Linked DNA regions of Homo sapiens: all the other regions are linked to region 5. The links are contacts of gene promoters, found by promoter capture Hi-C in blood cells and fetal thymus (Javierre and others, 2016). All regions are on one chromosome and are shown on one strand. The core of a region is centred on a gene start or on the middle of the fragment in contact, and the rest is flanking DNA. Distances in the headings are between cores, read along the strand shown.

Region 1 (3,179 bases), core at 285-2,784, 470 kb before region 5:
GAATTCTTAAAACTTGAAGATGCTAATCTCATGGTAATTCATCTACAGAAGGTGTCTGTAGTATTCTTTCAGTCTAGGTCACTACTTGAATGAGTTTAAAGATACAAAAGAATTCTCTTTTGGAGCACAACAGAATTAGGAACAAAGATGAATATAAATGAAAATATAGAGATTGTTAATAAGAAAGTTGAAGAGGTAATAAAAAGCCAGGCCAAAAAATGAAAAAGAGCTAAGGAAGTGTCAAATAGAGAAGTCCAAGTGATCAAATCTACTAGAAATTGATTTGATTTTTTTTCCTGGATAAAAGATAACAGGTATTTGCAATAAGAAGAGAGTTCCACAAACTTGTGGTTCCCAGGTGTGAACAAAGCAGTGGTGAAAGATGGGGCAAAAAGATGTCTGTTTTTGAGAAAAACAACATAGAAAGAAATGACATAAAGGACATTATACTTGGAATCGAAGGATATGAATTCCAGCTATGGCTCTGCTACTAACTTTAAGCAAAAATATTTGTGAGGCCCTGTTTTCTCACTTAAAAAATAAGGATGACAAGCCACATACTTGCTAAAGTCATTCTAGCTCTAGAATTACATGCAAAAAAGAACTCTCAACATGGTCTTATGCAATATAACTACAAATTGCAGGCAGCACACTGATGCAACAAGAAGGGTGCCCCACCCTGTATTCATAGAGAAAAAAAATCTGCCTTTTGAGAGTTAAATGTTATAATAAATATAATAGATCATGAAAGAAAGATATGTAAACTTCTGGCAACGTATGGCTTTTATTTTTATTTTCCAAATATGTGGTACACACCAAACACTTTTAGAAAACTACTATTCCCTTAACCAGATTGTTAAGAAATCCTAGACTGCAAAGTCACATAATCAGTGTAGCAATAATTTAAAGTTGGCTGCAATCTTTTTTTTTTTTTTTGAGGCAGTCTCGCTCTGTTGCCCAGGCTGGGAGTGCAGTGGTACAATCATGGCTTACTGCAGCCTCAACCTCCTGGGCTCAAGACATCCTCCCATATCAGCCACCCGAGTAGCTGGGGCTACGAGTGTGAGCCACCATGCCTGGCTAATAAAGTTGGTTGTATTCTTAAAATTGGCTGAAAAACAGTCCTTTGGAGTATTTCATAGCATTGTCTTTGAGGATTTCATGACCCCTGCCAGTACCTTACTTAAAAATGCTCTTAAGCAGTTAAAATTATTTGTTTCTTTATTGGCAGGTTAAAGTATAGTTAAGGAGATATTTTAATTGACTAAATAAGGCAAACCATAAATCCAACACTTTCACCATATGATATCAAAGAATCACAACCCCTGTCACTAACTGAAATAATTAATATGTTTTATTCAGTCTCTTCTCCATTTAGTTATTTATATTCATTAAAATCTGATTATTTTGGGTTTTTATATTACACTGAGCTTTTACTCTGAATCTCTAAAATCATTAAAAAGGAGAACTTAATATAATGAAGAAAAAGTCCATTTAATGACAAGTTAGATTAAATAACTGTGTTACTTAAAACAGAGCTGGAATTATGAATAGTGGGCCAAAACATTTAGTTTCTATTTGAACTAAAATATTACTTGGGATAATTTTCTAACAAATTAATATTCACAATAAGAAAATATGAAATTGGGCCAGGCGCGGTAACTCACGCCTGTAATCCCAGCGCTTTGGGAGGCCCAATGGGGGCGGATCGCCTGAGGTCAGGAGTTTGAGACCAGCTTGGCCAACATGGTGAAACCCCGTCTCTACCAAAAATACAAAAATTGGCTGGGTGTGGTGGTGCACACCTGTAATCTCAGCTACTTAGGAGGTTGAGGCACAAGAATCACTTGAACCTAGGAGGTGGAGGTTGCAGTGAGCTGAGATCACACCACTGCACTCCAGCTTGGGTGATGGAATGAGACTCAGCCTCAAAACGAAAAAAAAAAAAAAAAAAAAAGAAAGTATGAAATTGAAATCACAGAATCAAAAAACTTGTGATTTTTTAAAGACAAAAAATGATGTGTGTCAGCTGATGATCTCATTAGATAGTGCACCTACACATACTTTAAAAGCAAACTTTTATCAAGTTACTCTGTTACCTGATTACTTTGCTCTTGGGCAGGGCATTCCCCCAACCCCCATCACCTTTTCTTGGCTAGAGTACAAATTCAAAGAGGAACTTAGTGGGTCTTAAGCAAAACTTATCAGATTTCATGAACAATGGTACATATCTTTCTAGTTTATATATTGATAGAAGTCACAAACTGGTGGCTCACCGGCTCCAAACAGGCCACAGAATGTATTTGGTTCATATAATGCTTGTAAAAATTCTGAATTTGTTTCCAATATTTAATATTTGGGAGGACATAAAAATCCATAGTCTTGACTTCCCTTGAAATATTAGTGGGTTCTGGAACATGGGGCCCACATTCCTACATGGCAACAATTGGGTGGAGTTGAGCTTTGACTATTAAATTTAAATAGGGCCATGACTCCCCTGTTTGCCACAGTGCCCATGAGGGGTCCAATGAACTCTTTCATGTCATTTACTTGGCTTTTGTAGGCACTGAAGTTTGAAATGTCTAATATGTGAGTTTGTGTGTGTATGTGTGTGTGTATCTAAGAGTGTATATTCATATAAGTGGCCCTCCATATCTGCAGGTTCTACATCTGTGGATTCAACCAGCTGCAGATGGAAAATATAAAACAAAGGCCGGGCACAGTGGCTCATGCCTGTAATCCCAGCACTTTGGGAGGCCGAGGCAGGCAGATAACTTGAGGTTAGGAGTTCGAGACCAGCTTGGCCAACATGGCAAAACCCCATCTCTACTAAAAATATAAAAGTTAACCAGGCATTGTGGAGCACACCTGTAATCTCAGCTATTCAGGAGGCTGAGGCAGGAGAATCGCTTGAACACGGGAGGTGGAGGTTGCAGCAGTGAGCCAAGATCGTGCCACTGCACTCCAGCCTGGGCAACAGAGTGAGACTCTGTCTTAATAGGAAAAAAAAAAAAAAAAAGAAAATATAAAGCAAAAAATCCAACCCCCTCATAACAAAACAACAATTAAAAAATAATAAATAAAAAACAATATAGTCTAACAACTATTTGCATAGCATTTATTGGGTATTTATTGCATAGTTTTATTGGGTATTATAAATAATCTAGAGATGACTTAAA
Region 2 (3,422 bases), core at 219-2,718, 380 kb before region 5:
TGATGGAGGCTCATACAATCACCTATAAAATAGTACTGCCCCTCACACACACACAAAAATCAAACCTGGATTTGATCAAGCCTCTAGATTTAATTACAATAACTTTAAAAGAAACACGGAAGTATAAGTTAAACTATACGGCAAAATCCATTCTGTGGGAAATTCTATAAATGACCTAGTTTCTTCAACAAATGTTGCAAGAAGTAAGAAAACTGTAGGAAGTTTAACTGAACCTTAAAATATGTATCAAACAAGCCCAATTTGTGGACCTTACTTGGATACTTATTTAAATAGACAAACTGGCTGGGCGCGGACTGGCCGGGCACAGTGGCTCACGACCTGTAATCCCAGCACTTTGGGAGGCCGAGGCAGGCAGATCACCTGAGGTCAGGAGTTCGAGACCAGCCTGGCCAACATGGTGAAACCCCGTCTCTACTAAAAATACAAAAATCAGCTGGGTGTGGTGACAGGCACCTGTAATCCCAGCTACTCGGGAGGATGAGGCAGGAGAATTGTTTGAACCAGGGAGGTGGAGGTTGCAGTAAGCCGAGATCGCACCATTGCACTCCAGCCTGCAGGATAAGAGCGAGACTTCATCTCTAAATAAATAAATAAATAAATAGATAAACTGTTAAGAAAATTTGAACAATAAAGAGACAACTGAAAATCTGAGCAATGACTGAGAGTTGATGATATCAAGAACGTATCAATGTAAATAAGTACAACCACTATGGAGAACAGTTCGGAGGTCGCTCAAAAAACTAAAAATAGAGCTACCATATAATTCAGCAATTCCACTGCTCTGTATATATCTAAAAGAAAGGAAATGAATATACTGAAGAGGTGTCTGCACTCCCATGTTTGCTGCAGCACTGTTCACAATAGCCAAGATTTAGAGGTAACCCATATGTCAGATGGATAAAGAAAATGTGGTAAACATACACTACACAATGGAGTACTTATTCAGCCATAAAGAAAAATGAGATCCTTTCATTTGCAACAACATCATGGATGGAACTAGAGAATATCACGTTAAGTGAAATAAGCCTGGCCCAGAAAGGTAAGTTTTGCATGTTCTCACTTATTTGTGGGAGCCAAAAATTAAAACAATTGAACTCAACAGAGATAGAGAGCAGAATGATAGTTACCAGAGGCTGGGAAGGATAGTGAGAGGAGAGGGGCAAGGGAGTGAAGATGGTTAATAGTTATAAAAAATATGTGGGTAAAATAAATAAGATCTAGTATTTGATAGCACAACATGGTGACTACAATCAACAATAATTTATCATACATTTAAAAAAACCTAAAAGAGTATAACTGGATTGTTTGTAACACAAAGAAAGGATAAATGCTTGAGGTGATGAATACCCCATTTACTCTGATGTTATTATTTTGCACTGTATGCCTGTATCAAAATATCTCATGTGGCCGGGCGCGGTGGCCCACGCCTGTAATCTCAGCATGTTGGGAGGCTGAGGCGGGTGGATCTCCTGAGGTCAGGAGTTTGAGAACAGCCTGGCCAACATGGTGAAACCCCGTCTCTACTAAAAACACAAAAATTAGCTGGGCACGGTGGCGGGTGCCTGTAGTGCTAGCTACTTGGGAGGGTGAGACAGGAGAATGGCTTGAACTCGGGAGGCGGAGGTTGCAGTGAGCCGAGATGGAACCACTGTACTCCAGCCTGGGTGACAGAGCGAGACTCCACCTCAAAAAAAAAAAAATATTCTCATGTACCCCATATATATATACCTATTATGTACTCACAACAATGAAAAAAATTAAAAAGAAATTATATATTAAAAGTATAATAGTGGTACTGTGGTTATGAGTCCTTATCTTTTAGAGACACAAATGGAACCATTCCTTCAACAAATTTTGGAAGGGAGAAGTAGATGAGGGTATATGTAAAACAGTATTGGTCAAAATGATAATTCCTAAAACTTATGATGGGTACAAGGTCTATATTATCAGTCCATCTATTTCTGTATATATTTGAGATTTCTCATCATAAGCCTCCTAGTGGAGGCACATGCCAACACAATGCTAGTGTATCTGCGGCCGGGCTCAGTGGCTCATGCCTATAACACCAGCACTTTGGGAGGCTAAGGCGGGCAGATCAAAAGGTCAGGAGTTCAAGACCAGCCTGGCCAATACAGTGAAACCCCGTCTCTACTAAAAATACAAAAATTAGCCGGGCGTGGTGGTGTGCACCTGTAGTCCCAGCTACTTGGGAGGCTGAGGCAGAAGAATTGCTTGAACCCAGGGGGTGGAGGTTGCAGTGAGCCAAGATTGCGCCACTGCACTCCAGCCTGGGCGACAGAACAAGACTCCGTCTCAAAAAAAAAAAAAAAAATACTGCTTAGCACATAAATACATGTATCCTGCATGTGTCAATCAAAACAAATACACTGTTATATTACCTTATAGTCCAAAATAATATGTTCAGATATAGGAGACATCTTTTAAAAATAATTGTCTTATTATTTCTTTTTAAGAGTTAATTCCTTCAGTATGAAGGTTAAGGAAATTTTTAAAACGTGTTTTTCTCTAAAAATATCCTCAAAGTAGAAATTTTGGTTGAGTCACTAGAAGAAACTGTGCAACCAAAAATAACCCAAAGTTCTTGAGTTTTACGTTATAACATGATTTGCCTAACCTGGGGCAAGAAGTCTATGAATATCGCAGTTAATGGGTACTAAATTGTACGTGATTATGGATAATAGCTACATCTCACATTCTAAGTATTGTGCTTTGTTCCAGATACTTTGAATAGACTATACACTTTAATCTTCACAACATTTCTATCTCATATGGTGGGTTTTATCGTCTTTACAATTGAGGAAATTCAGGCTGAGTGAGGTTGAATAGACAGCAAAGAACAGACTGTGATTCAAACCCATGACTGTCTCACTCTAAAACCTGTGCTCCTGACCACTATGGGTACTTGATGTTATAAAGATGTTCTTATACCTGATAAGTGACAGATCATAACATTTAGCCATGAAAGCACAGCCAAGATTATGTCAAGAAAAGACCGTCAGAAAAAAACTAATGCATATGTTCATATATACATATGCTAAAAATAACATCTATACTAACTCCTTTCAGTAATTCTTATCTTAAAGATAATTTTAAAAATTAATTCTGAGGAAAATGAAAATTTTTTGCTGAGATTCCAAATAAAGTCAATAGGAACAATAGTTGTACAAAGTGTACTTTTAGGCCATAAGCCACTAAAAAGGAAGATATCAGCATAGTTTTATGTCAGGTTATGTTCACCAGCATGGGAAGCTTTTGATTAGTTTAGGTTTTCATTTTTTTATTATGTTCTTAAGCACCAAGGCAGCATGTATCATATAACTTGTAAAATATAAAGGTAACATTCATGATACTTGGAAGAGAAGAGTGACTACTAAAAGTCT
Region 3 (3,493 bases), core at 888-3,387, 400 kb before region 5:
CAAACATAATTGCTATCTTCCATTTTCAGTCAAGAGTATTTATAAACCTGTAATCCAAAAGTGGAATTAAATACATTTATTAAGAATATTTAATTACATTTAGAAATTTAAAAATTATCTAAAGGCTTTTTTGAAAAGTTAACATTTGACTGATGACTGAACAACAAATAGGAACCATGTGAATATTTGGTGGAAAAACAGCAATAGTACAGACCGTTCATTCAGGAATAATAACAAGACAAAAATGATCAGAATATAGTGCATAAGGGACAAATTGTATGAAGTAAAACTGGAGTGAGAGGCAGAGGTCAGTGGGAAAATGCCATGGTGAGGAGTCTGAATTTTATCGTAATTGCAATGAGAGGCCCCTGGATAGTGTCAGGATATGATCTGGTTTACTTTTTGAAAAGATCACTTTGGCTGCTCTGTAGAGAATGCATAGGGAGTGCTGAGGAAAGCAATAATGAGAACAGAGAAACCAGGCTCGCTCTTTCAGCTATTAGGATTTAAGTCATTACTTTATGTACATATGCACTTATTGGCTTTATTTTGGTTTAATATTTTAACACAGTTGCCCTGCCATTTCTTTTCAAAGTATTTATGCTTAATATGTCCAGCCCTATTAATAACTTGTATTGCTCCAATATAGGTGGGTTAATTTTCCTTCAGCTCTTCTCCCTTTATCTGCTACCTGTTTTTAGACTTAAAAGTAATTCAGATTTGCCCATGAGTATTCTGTATTCTACTTCTGTTTCTTTTTGCTTAGGACAAAGGTAGGTAGGAGAGGGAGAGCTATACCAGGTTTCTGGTATCTCTCAGTTTTATTGGAAGAACTGTAGCGGACTCACTCTATTTAGTCAAGAGTATATCCTTTTCCTCTTGAGAGGTGCTCTTGGGCTTTGATGGATTCTTAGAATATCTCATTTTCATCAGCTGTATTTATCCTGTGGCTACCACCCTCCACTCAACCCAGATCTCCTTCACCTCTCTGCAGCAGCTTCCCCCACTCTCCCCAGGCCCTAGTGGGCAAATATGAAAAACCAGCGGGAGGGTTCATGTCTCTGAGGCCTTTGGGGTGCCTCTTTCACCTGGGCATTCCCCCTCTCAGATGATCTCATTCTTACTATTTTACTGGATCTTCTCTTCTAATGAAGCCTAGTATGCCTAAAGATAACGTTCTGGGTTATTTTAGTTAGCTTTCCTCCCTGCCAAGAAAAACCAGAATGGCAAGCCCTGGTTCTTTTTATTCCTTCTGATTAAAAAAAAAAACAAAACAAAACCCATGATTGGTAGGGAAGAACTTGTCTCCTGAGGGATTTTCTAGGTCTTTTCCCTGAGCTACTAATTGCTCCCTCCATTTCCATCTCTCCAGATTGAGAGAATTAGGTTCAGTGTTCAGGCTTTTAATTAGTCCCCTTCCTTACTCTTCCCTTCACTGTACTGTTTCCATAAGCGAATAGAGAGCAGCCATGCCAATTCCTGGAATACGTTACCTCTCTCTTTCCCTGACTGTCATTTTTCAGAGATTATGGTTACAATTCCACGCACAGATGTATAGATTCAATTATTATGTTAGGTATAGAGGGTGTCAATAGGCCTGGGTAATCAAAAGGTTAGGGAAAAAAAGACAGCAGGAAAAGTGTTGGAGTAAAACTTCCATAACCTTTAGGAAACGTCACAGAAAGTGATTGTTGTAATATATGTTACATGCTATGTTAAGTCTATGCTAAGAGGTACTCTATGTCAGTAGTTCGCAACCTGGGATGCATCTTGCTAGGCCCATTCTACACATACGTAGTATCAATGGTTAAGTACTATGTGGTGCCAGGCACTGTTCCAAGAACTTTACATACACAGAGACACATATCCATTTACTCATCTCTTCAGCCCTACAAAACAGAATTCAGTATTATCTTCATTTTATAGATGAAATGAATCACAGAGAAGTTAAATAACATGCCCAAGGTCATATAGCTGGAAAGTAATGAAACCAGAATTCAAATTCAGATAATCTGGCTACTTTGCACAGGTTTCAAAACAATACACCTATTTTCTCTACACATCAAAAACCTATATTGCTAATTTAAGCTAGAGCTGAAACCAAAATACTGAAATACAGCCTCCCAGCTTCTAGATCAAACAGTGTCATTTTCATTAATTCTCACTTATTAAATGCTTATCTCACTCAAAAATCCCATACCTAGGAGGTAGGTATCATCTCAATTTTAAAAAAATGGCTTGAAAATGTCAAGCAAATTGGTGGCAGAACCAGCAGGGGAACCTGTGTCTTTCAACCTCCAAAGCCCCAGTTATAATGACTCTATTCAACTGTTTCAATACAGAATGTTATTCCTTTGTAACATATATCTATTTCAACCTTTAAGTGATTTCTATTAACCTCCAAATAAGCTCATTCTGATTGTACTGCAATAATTTTCTTATTCTGAATTATTTGTTAAAAGTTATTTTAAGAAAAGTACTTAGCCTAATTTTACATAGAGAATGCTAAAGAATAATTCTTAGGGCAGAAATCCATGGTCGGAATGATTTGTGTTTGAATTAGGACATACAGGATTTGTCTAGGCATGCTGTAATACTAGTTTTGTGAAACTCTGGTGTGATAAATAGCTACTTTTATCTAAACCAATGTTATTTACTACACTAAAAAAAGACAATTAAAATCTTAGCCAGGAAAACTAACACATACATTGGAACTCTTCCTACATTCTTTTATGTTCTAACACTCAGTTGCTATCTCTAAACTTTTGGTTTGCATATGAAAACCAGTAAATCACAACAAACCTATATTCTGAAAAATTTATATTTAGAAGAGCCAATGCTTTAGGAAAAAGCATTACTTTATAAGGTAATATTTTTCTAGAAACATACACTTACTTCTGCTTTTTTACGAGCTTCCATAGCTTTCATAAGCATCATGTGTTGTCGCCTTCGCTCTCGTTCCTATTAGGCCAGATAAAATGTGGAAAATAACTCAGCCACAATTAACAGTTTGATTTTCCAATGAAAAAACAAAAACAAAAACAAAACAAAAACTCAGTATAGCATGTTTAGCATTTATAGACAAGTCACAGTAAATACTAAATATAAGACAAGAATGGCCAGTCTGTGCATGTTTTAGTTCAGGTTTAGAAAGCAAATACAACAATCAAAAGCAAAAAGGTAAAGCAATGAACATGGAGACAGTGTAAACAGAAGCATACAAGATTTACTTATGGTCAGTTGTGATGCTCCTTCAAAAGCTGGCAGAACAAAAAGCATAATGGTTGGCTGGAACAGGTCAGTTACCTTACATCTGCTATTAGAAAAACCACAAATACTATGGCCAATTAAACTAACGGTTGTGTTGTTCTTAAAATTTTAGATCAGGAAGAAATTGATTTATAGTCACTTTAACTTCATGATTTTAGAGTAGGTTATTTTCAGTACAAAATCATTTTGCAAATCCAATAAGCCACCAATAAATTAGAGTTTT
Region 4 (3,073 bases), core at 574-3,073, 340 kb before region 5:
TTTTTTTGGCAAATTCTCAGAAACCCAGCTAGTTTCTCAAAAAAATGAGCTTGTAACTATAAAAACCAGTTTTTACTTTCATTTGTTATTACATATAAAATCTCTGGTTCTCACCAGTCAATTCAACTTCCTGACTCAAATGTTGTTAAATGTTTTATTTATAAACATACTATGATCAGTTCTTTTCTTTCTCCATCAATTTGTGTGGTAAGCAAGTTGAACTGAACATTGCAGTTTTGGAGAATTTGGGGTCATCTGTAATTTATGTTTTACAAATAACAATTCCTAAATTATATCAATTACATGTATGTAGTTGTGATTTAATACAAAGAAATTTGAGGGAAGTAACCTCAAAATTACAAAAGCTATATTAAATATTACAAAAATCCAGAATAATTGAAATTATCAAGGATTAGAAACTGATAGAAACACTTCTGCAATAACTAACTGTAATTACAATTAGTTGTAATAACTAATTGGTAATAATTGGTAGTAAGTAATAAATAATTGGTAGTAATAAATAATAAGTAATACATAATTGGTAGTAAGCAGCATTCTTAGATGCATAGTTACAGCATTAATTTCATTATTGGGAAGAAGCAAACAAGCTAAACTTTGTAGTCTCACAAGCAGAAAACATAAGCAGTAAATAAATGAAGTTATCACTCTTGTGGCAACAATGAAGAACCAATGATACATACTTTGACAACAAAAAGTTCTTTTTTAACTCTAAAAGGAATGACATGTGGAAGCAACTGAGTAGAAAATTTCAGCAAAATGAGCTGTATACATCACAGATTCAAATGAAAAAAATATAGATCTGTACACAAGAATGACATCTATGCCTGGCAAGAATGCAGAGATGGGAGTTCAGATCAAGGCTACTTCAACTCTACTTCCTAATTCTTTCTTCTAAAATTCTTGGTTAAAATAGTTAAAGCATGGAAAGCATCCTTAGTGACGACTGAGTCTTACAGGTCCATTCCTTGCTGGTGAGAAAAAGATTCACGTCTATATTTAGTAAAGTATACTAAGATCACTTATCATAATTGTAGTAATACCATGCACTAAAAAAATACCCACGTGAAAGACTTCCTGTTTCATGCGGGAAAGGTTATACTAGAGAAGGGAAATAATTTAAGAATACATTTCACAATTTTACTATATTTTGCCTTTATAGCAAGAATTTAGAACTCAGTGATATTTTTAAAAAAGTAATCTTTTTCATTAAAAAGTTCTGTAATGCTATATATATAATTTTAATACTGTTTTTCTTCCATCTTTTACAAAACACAGATAGTAATTCCATGTAAAAATCTTACAGAATTATTCTGTTATTTAACAGTTTCAGTAATTCAAACATTTCATGAACATACCTATTAAACATCAGGTGCTATGCTTAAGTAACTGGCCTACAAGGATGAGTAAGACAATCTCTGACCTCAAGGAACTCATGTTTTGAGCATAATTTAAACAGTGCAAGACTATTTTTATACCATAATGTATAAAACAAGTTTGTTAATATTTCAGTATTACAAATTGGTACTGTCATATACAGGACTCAGTAATACAACCCAAACACCTAAAACAGTGTCTAGTACATAACGGACATAAAATAAATGTTTTTAATGAATTAATTCACTACTCATTTAAAGCAGAAGAGGCCTATCCATGGGACTCATTCCAAAGGCTTTCAATCAGAACAAAAAGCTGTCTTGAGTCTTTAGGCAAACTTGCAGTTATGGTTCCTAGATTCCTTTGCCTTATTTCCTCAACCCCTGGTCCTAATTTGTTAACATTAACACTGGCCCTTTATTCCTCCTTGATTCCATTTAGGTCACATGTTGGATTTGATCACACAGAATCCTACCACCTCCAGGATCTTAAACTCTTAAAGTTTCACCCTTGAACCACAATTTTCACATTTCCATTCCCTTATTTCTCAGCACCACCTCCAGCCCCTCCCAGGGCCACTCCTTTACCCTGTCTGTCTCTTTCCCTCTCAATACATCAATACCTCTCCTGTGTTAACCTTAAAGGAAACGTCCTATACCTGCTATGTCTACTTCCTCCTCACTTCTCAGAATCTTTCAACATTTGTGCCAAGCCCCAAGCCTCCCTTCCACTTGGTCTGTAAAAGGAAAGTTTTCATAATTCCTAGATCCCTCTAATCTTTATTGTTTTCATTCTCAACCTCTTATATAAGTCTGGCATTCCTGACTGCCTCTTTCATATTATTATTTTTTTGACATGGAGTCTCCAGCCACCCAGGCTGGAGTGCAGTGGCACAATCTCAGCTTACTGCAACCTCTGCCTCCCGGGTTCGAATGATTCTCCTGCCTCAGCCTCCTGAGTAGCTGGGATTTCAGCTGTGTGCCACTACGTCCAGCTAATTTTTTTGTATTTTCAGTAGAGACAGGGTTTCACCACGTTGGCCAGGCTGGTCTCAAACTACTGACCTCATGATCTGCCTGCCTCAGTCTCCCAAAGTGCTGGGATTACAGGCGTGAGCCACTGTGCCTGGTCCTTTCTTTTCTATTCTTTCTTTTTTCTTTTTTTTTTGAGACGGAGTCTCGCTCTATTGCTCAGGCTGGAGGGCAGTGGTGCGATCTCGGCTCACTGCAACCTCCGCCTCCCGGGTTCACGCCATTCTCCTGCCTCAGCCTCCCAAGTAGCTGGGACTACAGGCACCCACCACCATGCCCGGCTAATTTTTTGTATTTTTAGTAGAGACGGGGTTTCACCGTGTTAGCCAGGATGGTCTTGATCTCCTAACCTCATGATCTGCCCGCCTCAGCCTCCCAAAGTGCTGGGATTACAGGTGTGAGCCACCGCGCCTGGCCTGGTCCTTTCTTTTCAAAACCCATTATCATCCTTAAGATCTAGGTCGTGGAACCCTCTTGATCCTCTTCTTAACTATACATCTTTCAATAATACTATCTCCTTTATTGGATTTTCTTTTGCTTTTTTCCCCCTAAATGTAAAAGATTCCTAAAGATTTTGTCCAGCTATCTCTTTCCTTCTCTTATGCTTTCTCCTTCAGTATTTCACATGCTTATACTGTTTAAACTAT
Region 5 (3,288 bases), core at 659-3,158:
TTTTTCAGCCCTATAACATTAGCATACATATGAATGTGTTCAGTAACCATAAACATCCAATATACATAAGGTGGTATTCATACGTTTTCTGGTTGCAACAATTACCCTTCATTTTGTATGAAGAGAATAAAGGGAAGGAAACCAAGATGAACCACGCCTGTAATAGGGACTAGACGTGGAGTTCCCACTTAATGCTCCCAATAGCCCCATGAGTAAGTATTATCTCTGTTTTACTGAAGTGCAGATAAGTTGGTTAACTAGCTAGGTCAAAGCTCACACTCATTTCCAAATTAATCCTTAAAGCTTCCTGACTGGGAGGAGCTGATTAATTAACATTAATTTATTCATCATGCACTTTTCTAAAGCTCTTGAAAAGCCTATTGATCCACACTGGACTTATCAAAGGAAATGCACAAAAATTTCCAAAGGGAAATTTGCCCTCTATTGCTGGTCAAAACAGCTTCACTGAAGAAGAGACATACCAAAATCTAGAAACTGATTTTCTTTAAAAGTCTGACAAGAAAGAAAAATCTGACAAGAAAATTCGACTAGCCTAAAGTACAAATGCACAGCCTCGCAGAGGGTGGTTTACATGAGAGTTGAGATGTTACTGGCTCGCAAAATGAGGGTGTGCAGAAGGAGGGTTCAGAGACAGCCCAGCTTTGTCTTAGACAAAATTAATGTTCCCAGTCTGAACAATGTGAACATGGGCACATCTTGTTTCTGCCCCTTTGATAGGCAGCAGATGTCACAACCAGTCATAAATGCAGGTCCACAGAAGTTTTCAAGAAAGGAACCTTGGGTTTGTATCCAAGTTCTGAGCTGCTGCTGCCTCCAACACTGAGGTCCACTGAAATATTCCTGTCAGTAGACTTCGAGCAGGCAGTTATTATAAAAACGCAGTGAAATCTGGGGCAAGGGGTGGGGGGGGGGAATCTCTTGCATTTTATTTAAATCTCTTGCACTTTATTTAAGCCCACACAAGTACTCATTTAGTTCTTGTTTATTTTGCTCTTTAATTCCTGGAATTATTCAGTCAGTGGTGTTTTTGGAAGTCTGTGTTCTCCAGAGTCTCCCCATCCACATATTTTTGACATGCTTGTATGGAAATTTTTTAAAAATAAAGACCACGGTCAATAGAATTGTGCATTTTCCTCACGAGTCGTTTTGTAAATGAATGATCACGTGTGTGATTTTTCAGATGTCACTTGCACAACAGCAGACTAGAACTTTAAAACTCCTTGATTTCAGTGAAATCCAAGCTTTGCCTATTCCCGTTCCTCTTCCATCCAGGGGTTATTTGGCTGAACTGTTTTCCTGTTTAAACAACTTGAACACCAACCAACTAGACAAACAGCGCTGCTTGCAAAAGAGGGCCTACTTCCTCCGGCCCCCACCCCCATCCCAGCAACCCCACTCCGGCCGCGCACCAGCAGGGGAAATCGCCACCAACGTCCCCGCTTCTCATTTCAGCCCGAAATTGCCCTGAAACGGCGCCCGTCGTGCGACTCCAAGTCCCTCAGTTCTCCGGCCAACTGGCCTAATTTGGGGGTTCCCTCCCCGCGGAGTGGGGTCTGCGGTGAGGATGTGGACTCCGAGGAAGACAGAGCCCTCCCTTATTCTCGGCCACCTCCCCTCCCCGAGGGCAGGCGGGTGAGAGGTGACCCGGAGCCAGGACCCACGGGGGACGGGCGTGCAGGGAAGGGCGGGATGGCCGGCCGGGTGTTGCGTCTGCGGGCCGCCCTCGGGTGCGCGGGGACGAAGAGCGTGCGTTGGGAAGGGGGCGAAGGCGGTCGCGCACGGTCCCGGCGAGGGACTACGTAAGGGCTTACCCGCGACGGCAGCAGCGGCGAGGCCCAGCAACGGCAGCAGGAGCGCGGGCAGCGCGGCCCGGAGCATGACGGCGGGTGCGGGTGGGCGGCAGCGGCTGCGCGGCCGGAGAGGAGCGGGGCGGGGCGGGAGCGGGGGCGGTGCTTCTCGCGTGCGAGTTTAATCCCCCCCCCGGGCGGAACGTGAACGGCACTGGGGGCTCCCACCAGGAGAACCCGGGTGTCCCGTCCCGCAGGAGCGGCTGGCGCGCGGCCTTCTGGAACTTCTAATTTTTGTTTTTTAAACTTTTCATTTGAATTGAAATAATTTAGGACTTTCGAAAATGTTGCAAAAACAGCACAAGAGATTTCCGTAACCCTTCAGCCAGCTTCTCTAAATATTGACATTGTATATAACGCCAGTGCAGTGATCAAACACAGGGCACTCGCACTGGGATAATGCGATTAGCTAATCTACAGCACTTACCACATTTCATTAATTGCCCCTCTAAGGGTCCTTTTCTGTTCCAAGATTCAATCCAGGATCATACATTGCATGTCGTGTCTCCTTAGTCTCCCTTTAATCTAGGACGGTTCTCTGTCATTCTTTTTCTTTCACGATCAAACCACATTTAAAAAGTACTGGCCAGTCGTTTTGTAGAATGTCCCTCAGTTTCATTTTGTCTGACATTTCCTTCTAATTGGATTCAGGTTGCGCTTTTTTGGGAAAGAGTTCCCCAGAAGTGATGTACGTGCTCGAGAAGGACAAGATGTCGATGTCTCATCACTGATGTTAACTTGGATCAGTTGGTTAAGGTGGCGTTTGCCAGCCTTCTTCTTTGGATCTACTGGCCAGAATCCTCCTTTTCAAAGACCCCTTTCAGTGGACTATGTCTCTTAGACAACTTTTCTCTGTTACCAGCTCCTGGATGAAGAGTCTTTAAGCTATGTTTGCTACAATGTATGCATAAACTGTGCAATTATACTTCACCCATGAGGGCCTCTGGACAACACTAGCCAGGGTCAAGCAAGGGTGCTTGTTTAAGCCTCATGTCATTGGCAAAAGAGTTCTATAAAATCAAGTCTAAACTCAACAACGTGAAAACAAATGACCCAGTTAAAAAAAATGGTCAGATGATCTGAATACACACGTCATCAAAGAAGTTATATAATGGCAAATAGATGAAAAGATGCTCAACATCATATGTCATTGCTGAATTGTATATGAAAACAAAAATGAAATACCACTACATACCTATTAGATACCAGAATCCAAAAACACTGACAAGACCACATGCTGGCAAAGATGTGGAGCAAAAAGAACTCTCATTCAATGCTGGTGCAAATGCAAAATGGTACAGCCACTTTGGAAGACAATTTGGAAGCTTCTTCCAAAACTAAACGTACTCTTACCATACCATCTAGCAATCACAACTCCTTGGTATTTATCCAAATGAGTTAAAAACTTACATACACACAA
Region 6 (3,294 bases), core at 129-2,628, 430 kb before region 5:
CACTTTTCCAGCTGTGGTCTCCAGGGCTAGCATTAGAGCCTATCTGCAGGTGTCAAGGATACAAGCTTTCATTACTTTGTACAAGGGCTCTTGCCTTGAATAGTCACCTACGAAGCTGAGGATATGACCAGCAATTGCTATCATGGGAAACGCTGCCATTGAGAAAGCCTGGGATCATATCACTGAAATTAGTATTGCTTCCTTGACATGAGTAATATTAGAGAATTGCATAGCTTTGGACTTTTTGTTGGATATGCAGCCAGATTGCTCATGGGAGCTCTGTATCTCCTAATGCTGTGGTATATTGTTTGTTTTAGAATTTCTCTGGCTATATGACTCTTTCAGCACTGTCAACAAACACTGAAGGCACCATTTAAAATCTAATTGCTTTCTATTGCAGATGGGGACGCATATATCTAGTGAGCCACACCAAGGGTCAGGGGGTGGACTGAGAAGGAATAAACCCTCAGTCTTAGCTAAATGGGCATGGGGGCTCTCTTCCTTCTCTTGTTCCCAAGACCCATCAGCAAACCTGCTTAGCCACCGAGCTGATGTGCAGAGGAACAGTAGGGTCTTTAGCTGCTGTTCTCAAAGTCCTTGGTTTGTAGATCCTGGTCCTTTGTAATGCAAACTCCCTAGTGTTGTTCCTAGGCCCAGAGGTCCTTTGAGATATATGTTGTTTCTTAGAATAATGAAGGACTTGGACTAACCTCGAAATATATAGTGGTATGAAGGCAGAGCCTTCTCTTTGAGTGATCTTGTTTCTTGTCCAGTCTCTAACTGGACAAGGCACACCCCTGTGGAACCACTGTAGGGGCTCAGAGATCCCCTGAGTGCTCTGTTACTTATCTGAAGTTATCATCACCAATAAACATTATTGTTATTAGCACTGTGTGTAATGCTTGTGGTATATATTACCTTGCCTCTTGTACAACACGAATTTAATTTAATTAATATTTTTCTGTGAAGGTAATCCAATGTCTGATATCTTCTCCCCATAATATTAATTGATGTTAATGTTATTATAAGAATTTTTTAAAAACTTGTACATTTAATGTTAAATCTAACCTTTCTTTATTAAGAACACATTATACTTTTAAGGAACTTTTAAAAAGTAATAAATAAGCAGCTGGGCACAGTGGCTCACACCTGTAATCCCAGCACTTTGGGAGGCCGAGGTAGGCAGATCATGAGGTCAGGAGATCGAGACCATCCTGGCTAACACAGTGAAACCCCATCTCTACTAAAAAAATACAAAAAAATTAGCCAGGCATGGTGGCAGACGCCTGTAGTCCCAGCTACTTGGGAGGCTGAGGCAGGAGAATGGCGTGAAAGTGGGAGGTGGAGCTTGCAGTGAGCCAAGATCGCGCCACTGCACTCCAGCCTGGGAGATAGAGTGAGAATCTGTCTCAAAAAAAAAAGTAATAAATAAGATGATGACAATAATGTATATTGTTAATGTTGAATTAACTTTCAGCACCCATTTATTTACAGTAGTTTCTACTAGTTTGACACTTACTGATCTTTATCAGCCTTGCCTGTCAGACACACTACGTGCTCATATTATACACTTGTATGTTCTCTTTGTCTTCATACGTGCTGTATCTTTCCAATTAGATTGTGAGCTTTTTGTGGATAGGGACAGGTTAACTGATTCTTTTGCATCTTGTTTTGCTCAAGTGATCCCCCTATGCCAGCCTCCTGAGTAACTGAGATTACAGGTGCACACCACAGTCAGCCATATATATGTGATTTTAGTAGAGACAAGGTCTTGCTACGTTGCCCAGGCTCGTTGTGAACTCTTGGGCTCAAGCAATCCTCCTGCCTCAGCCTCCCAAAGTGCTAGGATTACAGGCATGAACCAGTGCACCTGGTCTTCTTTTGCATCTCCACAGCACTTAGTACAAGGCACAATACAGGTGTAAATAAACACTTGATGAATAAATCATCTGAGTTTTTTCCTCATTTTAATTAGCTGTAAGATAAAGAGAAGGAATCTATACCTATTATTTATAAGTTCTTAGCACATAGAATACAGCAGACGTATATTCCCTTATTATTTCATTAATGTCTATTAATATGTCTATTAATGAAATAAAAAACTTCAGAAGAAAATAAAGTGAAAAATTATCCCTACTTCCCCCTGCTCTGCAATGACCACAAATAAGAGTATAAAGTACAACTGCTATTTATATATCACTTTGCAGTTGTTTTAGATCCATTATCTGACATGATCCTTGTAACAATCGAAGAATTCATATACAGCTTATTAATATTTTTTTGCAGAAACAGAAATCAGTGTCCAGAGAGGTTATGTAGAAGAGCCTGGATGGAAATGGAGGTCTAATATGTAAATTCAATCAATGATAATCTGAAAGGCCTAAAAAAAAAAAAAAAAAAAAAAAAACTGTCTCCTATAAGCTATTCTTATAAAACCTTATAAAGACATTAAATTATTTATTTACTTATTTAAATCTTAAAGTATTTTAAGTGTGCCTGTGATATATAAAGTACTATCCTTCCAACACTATGGAAAATTAAAAGCACAGATGAAGATTATAAGATTTAAATAAGGAAATAGTATATATATTAATGTGCTAAAATAATGGTCTAATTAATTATCTGCTTTTCTGGGAGTTCAATTTCACGTTTATTAAAAGGTCCACTTAAATAAGCTGGGAAGTTTGTGGAAAAGCTTAGGATTTGAGCTGGATCAAGAAGGATGGGTGAAATTTCGATGGTAGAAGAAAAGCAGATTATTATTATAATAAACAAGATTTGGCAAAGATGCAAGGGGAGGAATACACATGTGTTCAGTGAGTAGACTGGACTAGTTGAATTCTCATTAACAGAACAGCATAAAGACAGCTTGGGGTCAGAATTGTATACAGTCTTGAATGCCAGGCTAAGTACATATTTAACTACATCATGTTACAGGTTATAGAGGTCATTTAAGGTTTCAGAGTAGAGACATGATATGATGACAGAATGTGATGGAAGGAGGGAATTGTATATAGAGAAGTTGAGGACAGGTGTAATAATCCAGGTATACAATGATAAAGAACTGATTTCAGTAGTGTTGCAAAGAGACTGATTTCAGGTATTTTGAAGGAAAGTTGATGTCCTAGATACTTCAAGTTTACATGCCCAAGTGACTAAGAAGAATGTGGCTCTTAAACATATTGAATATTTAACTGGTCTGGGGTAGGGCTCAGATTGATCATTTTCTTAAGCTTTTCAGGTGATTCATAAGGTTAAAAAGCCACTCACCTAGGCATTAAAAAAAAATCTTTG
Region 7 (3,243 bases), core at 524-3,023, 360 kb before region 5:
GCCTCGGCAACAGATTGAGACCCTGCCTCAAAAAAAAAAAATAAAAAAAAATTGGTATTAGGAAAAAAAGGACATTAATTTTAAACCCAAGTAATTGTGAAGCTTGTCTTACTCAAACATATTTATCCCCTTATTTCTAAATCCTTAGATCTTGGGTGTGGGGACTTACCTTAGGCATGGGTTGCAGGGGAGCTGGAATGACATGATTGCATTGCCAAAAATACATTAAACAGATACATATATGAATATAAAATCAGAGAAATTTAGTTTTCTGCTGTACATATTCTATTCCTGGAGACTAAGAAAGTATAAAAATGAAGGTAGAATTTAACTTAAACTTGTGTATTGTAAGACAATATAGAAGCTCTATCTTTCTCTAATAGTAAAATTCTTGTATAAATAATTTGTAACTCACCCGTTTGGATCTCAATTCACTGGTCAATAAACTAGATTCTTCAGAGGTATTTTTATTCCCTGCTTTAAGAACATCAGGAGAAGGAACTATGAGTTTCATGTAAGTTTCCTTTTTGGCTTGATTTACCAAAGATAAAGGTTTCACATTGGACACCAATCCCGTAGACTGTATTACACTGGTGTGTTTGTTCACAGATTCCTCCTTTGCCTGAGAGCTTTGGAAAATAAATGGAAGCTGCTGTGACAAAACCTGAGGCTGCTTCTGCTGGGATTGGAATGAGTGAGTCTGGGATTCAGACGCAAGAGGTAATGGCTGGTGTATTCTTTTTTCCTGGGCTTTTTCAGTTGCTTTCTGTCCATCTGCTTTTGGGTCTGAAATACCATGTAATAGCACCTAGATATAAAAATGAAAAGGTAAGTTCCTAACATCTATTAAGACAAAGACTATCAAGCAGTAAAACCTGGAGATAAAAACGGGTACTTTCAAAGTGTTCTTAATGCCTTATGATAATATCTAAAAATCTAAAAATTCGTAAAAGAAATACCGTATGTCCCTTTAAAAACATTTCTTCATCTTCTTTCTTGGGCAAAAGTATGAACTCAAAGTAATGATTAACTTTAAAACTACAGACTTTGAGAGTCAAGATAAACCAGTTAATTCCTAAATATGAATAATGTTTGGATACTGTCCATGAAAAAAATTATACCTGGTTGTTACTTTTATGTTGTGCTTCACTCTCTGAATCAGAATCATCATCTTCACTTTCTTCAATACTTTGATCTTCTTCTTCTTCATCTTCTTCTAGATCATCTGAATCACTGCTACTAATGCCTTCACTTGAGGTGTCTGATGATGTGCCTGAATCACTATCACTGTTGCTAGAACTTTCCATTGCTTTCTTCCTTGGTTTCTGGATAACGACAAGGTAGTTGGCAAGACTTTATTTTTGGAAAACATTCAAGTTTCAATAAAAGGTGTACTCTTTTTAATTTTCAAATGATATTTTCAATCTCAAAATGTCATTGTAGGAAAAAGTCACATATCGTAAGGATAATTATTTAACAAACTGATCAACTTAACTTACATGACAGAACTCCTCAATGAAAAGTGCAAGCTCTGTCATGTAGAATATTGAAAATATCAATATAGCATATGTGTAGATGTACTCATATGACTGTTATTCTTCAAAATGTATGACAGATTAAAAAGATCAGTTCACAAAATAATTCCAACTATGATACATACATCAAAAGTTACACATTTAGCTTTAGTCTTCTTTCTTTTTGCAGACAGTGAGTCAGTAGCCAAACATTTACCTATAACATGCCACACACACCTTTCTGGGTATGTCCAAGACTGAGTCCTTGCCTTCAAGAAACTTACTAGTGCTGGTGATAGGGGAGGGTACACAAATGCTTAATATAAAAGCAAATTATTCCATATAATAATAAGTGCTGTAGAGAAGATAAAGTAGGGTAGCAAAAGACCTATGGGGCTGCTTTAGTTAGGGTCAAGGAATTTAACTGTTTATGTTTCATTTCAGAAAATATTAAAAAAAAGGTAGAAGATGAGGTAGATAAATATGACGAGAGAGATTTATTTTTGGAACATTTAAGACTCTGCAAGAAAAATAAAATCCAAAGCTGGTAGAAAGTGGTTATTAGGTCACATAAAAGTGAAGTTTTGTGTTCAAGAAAACATAATAGTAGTGGACAAAAAGAGGAAAAATCATGAGATGTATTATAACAAATTAACAAACCAATCAATTAACTTATAAAAGAACTCCTCAATAAAAAGTACAAGCTCTGTCATGTAGATTATTGAAAATATTCATAATTATTTAACAATGGGAAAGTTAAAATTTCACCAATAGAAAGACTGAAAAGGAGAAACATTGAAATGATGGAGCCACAAGATTAAGTACAATCTAGGAACATTTTAATGGCATTTGCTGATAAAGAACAAAATATAGAAAAAATAACAATAAATTACAAAAGTTATGATCTTAACAGAAATACATCCTTTTATGACTACTCGGGATTGGGGAATGAAATACAGTAATATATCTCCACAACAGAGAGCCAAATTGAAGCCACGGTTACAGATTGCAAATCTGTAGTCTTTTTATTGTGTCTTCTGAACATTGATTCAGGTAACATTCATATGAGTGAGGAGAGTCACTCCCGCCATTATATTCCGTTTGCAATGACTCTTGTTTTTTTTTTTTTTTTTCGGGGACAGTCTCGCTCTGTCGCCCAGGCTGGAGTACAGTGGCACGACCTCAGCTCACTGCAACCTCTGCCTCCCAGGTTCAAGCAATTCTCTGCCTCAGTTTCCTGAGTAGCTGGGATTACAGGCGCCTGCCACCACGCTAATTTTTGTATTTTTAGTAGAGACGGGGTTTCCCCATCTTGGCCAGGCTGGTCTTGAACTCCTAACCTCATGATGCACCCGCCTCGGCCTCCCAAAGTGCCGGGATTACAGGTGTGAGCCACCACATCTGGCCTTGCAATGACTCTGCTTTAACTGCTCCAAACTAGTTACAAGAAGGCCTCTTTCAAAGATACACACTTCAATAAGCAGACTAATAGTTCCCATCATTTCTTGAGTTTTCTTCCCTCAAAGTAGGGCAGACAGGAACGAGAAACTGAATTGGAATTGTATGGGTACCCACACAATGAGAAAGATCACAAGGTAGAGAGATTAAAGGAAAATAATAATATATTAATATTAAGACTACCATTTATTTGTCAAAGAAACAGCTACTTCTTTGCAACCAAAATCTGTTGTAGTTTTCTAAGCATGTATAGCAAGACCACGAAAATCAT

What was found. The method cuts DNA at HindIII sites, captures the fragments that hold promoters and counts their contacts. A CHiCAGO score of 5 or more calls a contact.
Region 1: a fragment that was not itself captured here is called in contact with the fragment with the promoter of CD302 in region 5 in 1 of 17 cell types (monocytes); the score reaches 5.2 in monocytes.
Region 2: a fragment that was not itself captured here is called in contact with the fragment with the promoter of CD302 in region 5 in 1 of 17 cell types (neutrophils); the score reaches 6.5 in neutrophils.
Region 3: a fragment that was not itself captured here is called in contact with the fragment with the promoter of CD302 in region 5 in 1 of 17 cell types (neutrophils); the score reaches 5.9 in neutrophils.
Region 4: a contact is called between a fragment that was not itself captured here and the fragment with the promoter of CD302 in region 5, in 1 of 17 cell types (neutrophils). The highest score is 8.6, in neutrophils.
Region 6: a contact is called between a fragment that was not itself captured here and the fragment with the promoter of CD302 in region 5, in 1 of 17 cell types (monocytes). The highest score is 5.1, in monocytes.
Region 7: a contact is called between a fragment that was not itself captured here and the fragment with the promoter of CD302 in region 5, in 1 of 17 cell types (neutrophils). The highest score is 5.2, in neutrophils.

What each region holds. Positions count from the first base shown.
Region 1 is chr2:159,326,135-159,329,313 of GRCh38, forward strand. The region is part of intron 34 of BAZ2B (bromodomain adjacent to zinc finger domain 2B); the gene reads right to left. Among named protein-coding and RNA genes, the nearest start is that of WDSUB1, 41 kb to the left of the region's middle. The HindIII fragment of the contact is 4,193 bases long and covers 1-3,179 here.
Region 2 is chr2:159,413,109-159,416,530 of GRCh38, forward strand. The region is part of intron 13 of BAZ2B (bromodomain adjacent to zinc finger domain 2B); the gene reads right to left. Among named protein-coding and RNA genes, the nearest start is that of WDSUB1, 130 kb to the left of the region's middle. The HindIII fragment of the contact is 3,642 bases long and covers 1-3,289 here.
Region 3 is chr2:159,392,874-159,396,366 of GRCh38, forward strand. It overlaps BAZ2B (bromodomain adjacent to zinc finger domain 2B), which reads right to left. Exons shown (of 37, transcript NM_013450.4): 20 at 2,896-2,961. Among named protein-coding and RNA genes, the nearest start is that of WDSUB1, 110 kb to the left of the region's middle. The HindIII fragment of the contact is 8,269 bases long and covers 1-3,493 here.
Region 4 is chr2:159,455,782-159,458,854 of GRCh38, forward strand. All of the region lies in intron 3 of BAZ2B (bromodomain adjacent to zinc finger domain 2B), which reads right to left. Among named protein-coding and RNA genes, the nearest start is that of BAZ2B-AS1, 160 kb to the right of the region's middle. The HindIII fragment of the contact is 5,013 bases long and covers 1-3,073 here.
Region 5 is chr2:159,796,300-159,799,587 of GRCh38, forward strand. CD302 (CD302 molecule) reads right to left here and starts at 1,909. Exons shown (of 6, transcript NM_014880.5): 1 at 1,833-1,909. The coding sequence starts at 1,899. All of the region lies in intron 33 of LY75-CD302 (LY75-CD302 readthrough), which reads right to left. It overlaps LOC124906083 (a long non-coding RNA gene), which reads left to right. Exons shown (of 2, transcript XR_007087273.1): 1 at 1-1,653; 2 at 2,520-3,288. The HindIII fragment of the contact is 1,931 bases long and covers 1,261-3,191 here.
Region 6 is chr2:159,366,477-159,369,770 of GRCh38, forward strand. All of the region lies in intron 27 of BAZ2B (bromodomain adjacent to zinc finger domain 2B), which reads right to left. Among named protein-coding and RNA genes, the nearest start is that of WDSUB1, 81 kb to the left of the region's middle. The HindIII fragment of the contact is 2,630 bases long and covers 64-2,693 here.
Region 7 is chr2:159,437,888-159,441,130 of GRCh38, forward strand. It overlaps BAZ2B (bromodomain adjacent to zinc finger domain 2B), which reads right to left. Exons shown (of 37, transcript NM_013450.4): 7 at 1,122-1,325; 8 at 416-808. Among named protein-coding and RNA genes, the nearest start is that of WDSUB1, 150 kb to the left of the region's middle. RefSeq lists an enhancer at 1-1,051. The HindIII fragment of the contact is 3,347 bases long and covers 101-3,243 here.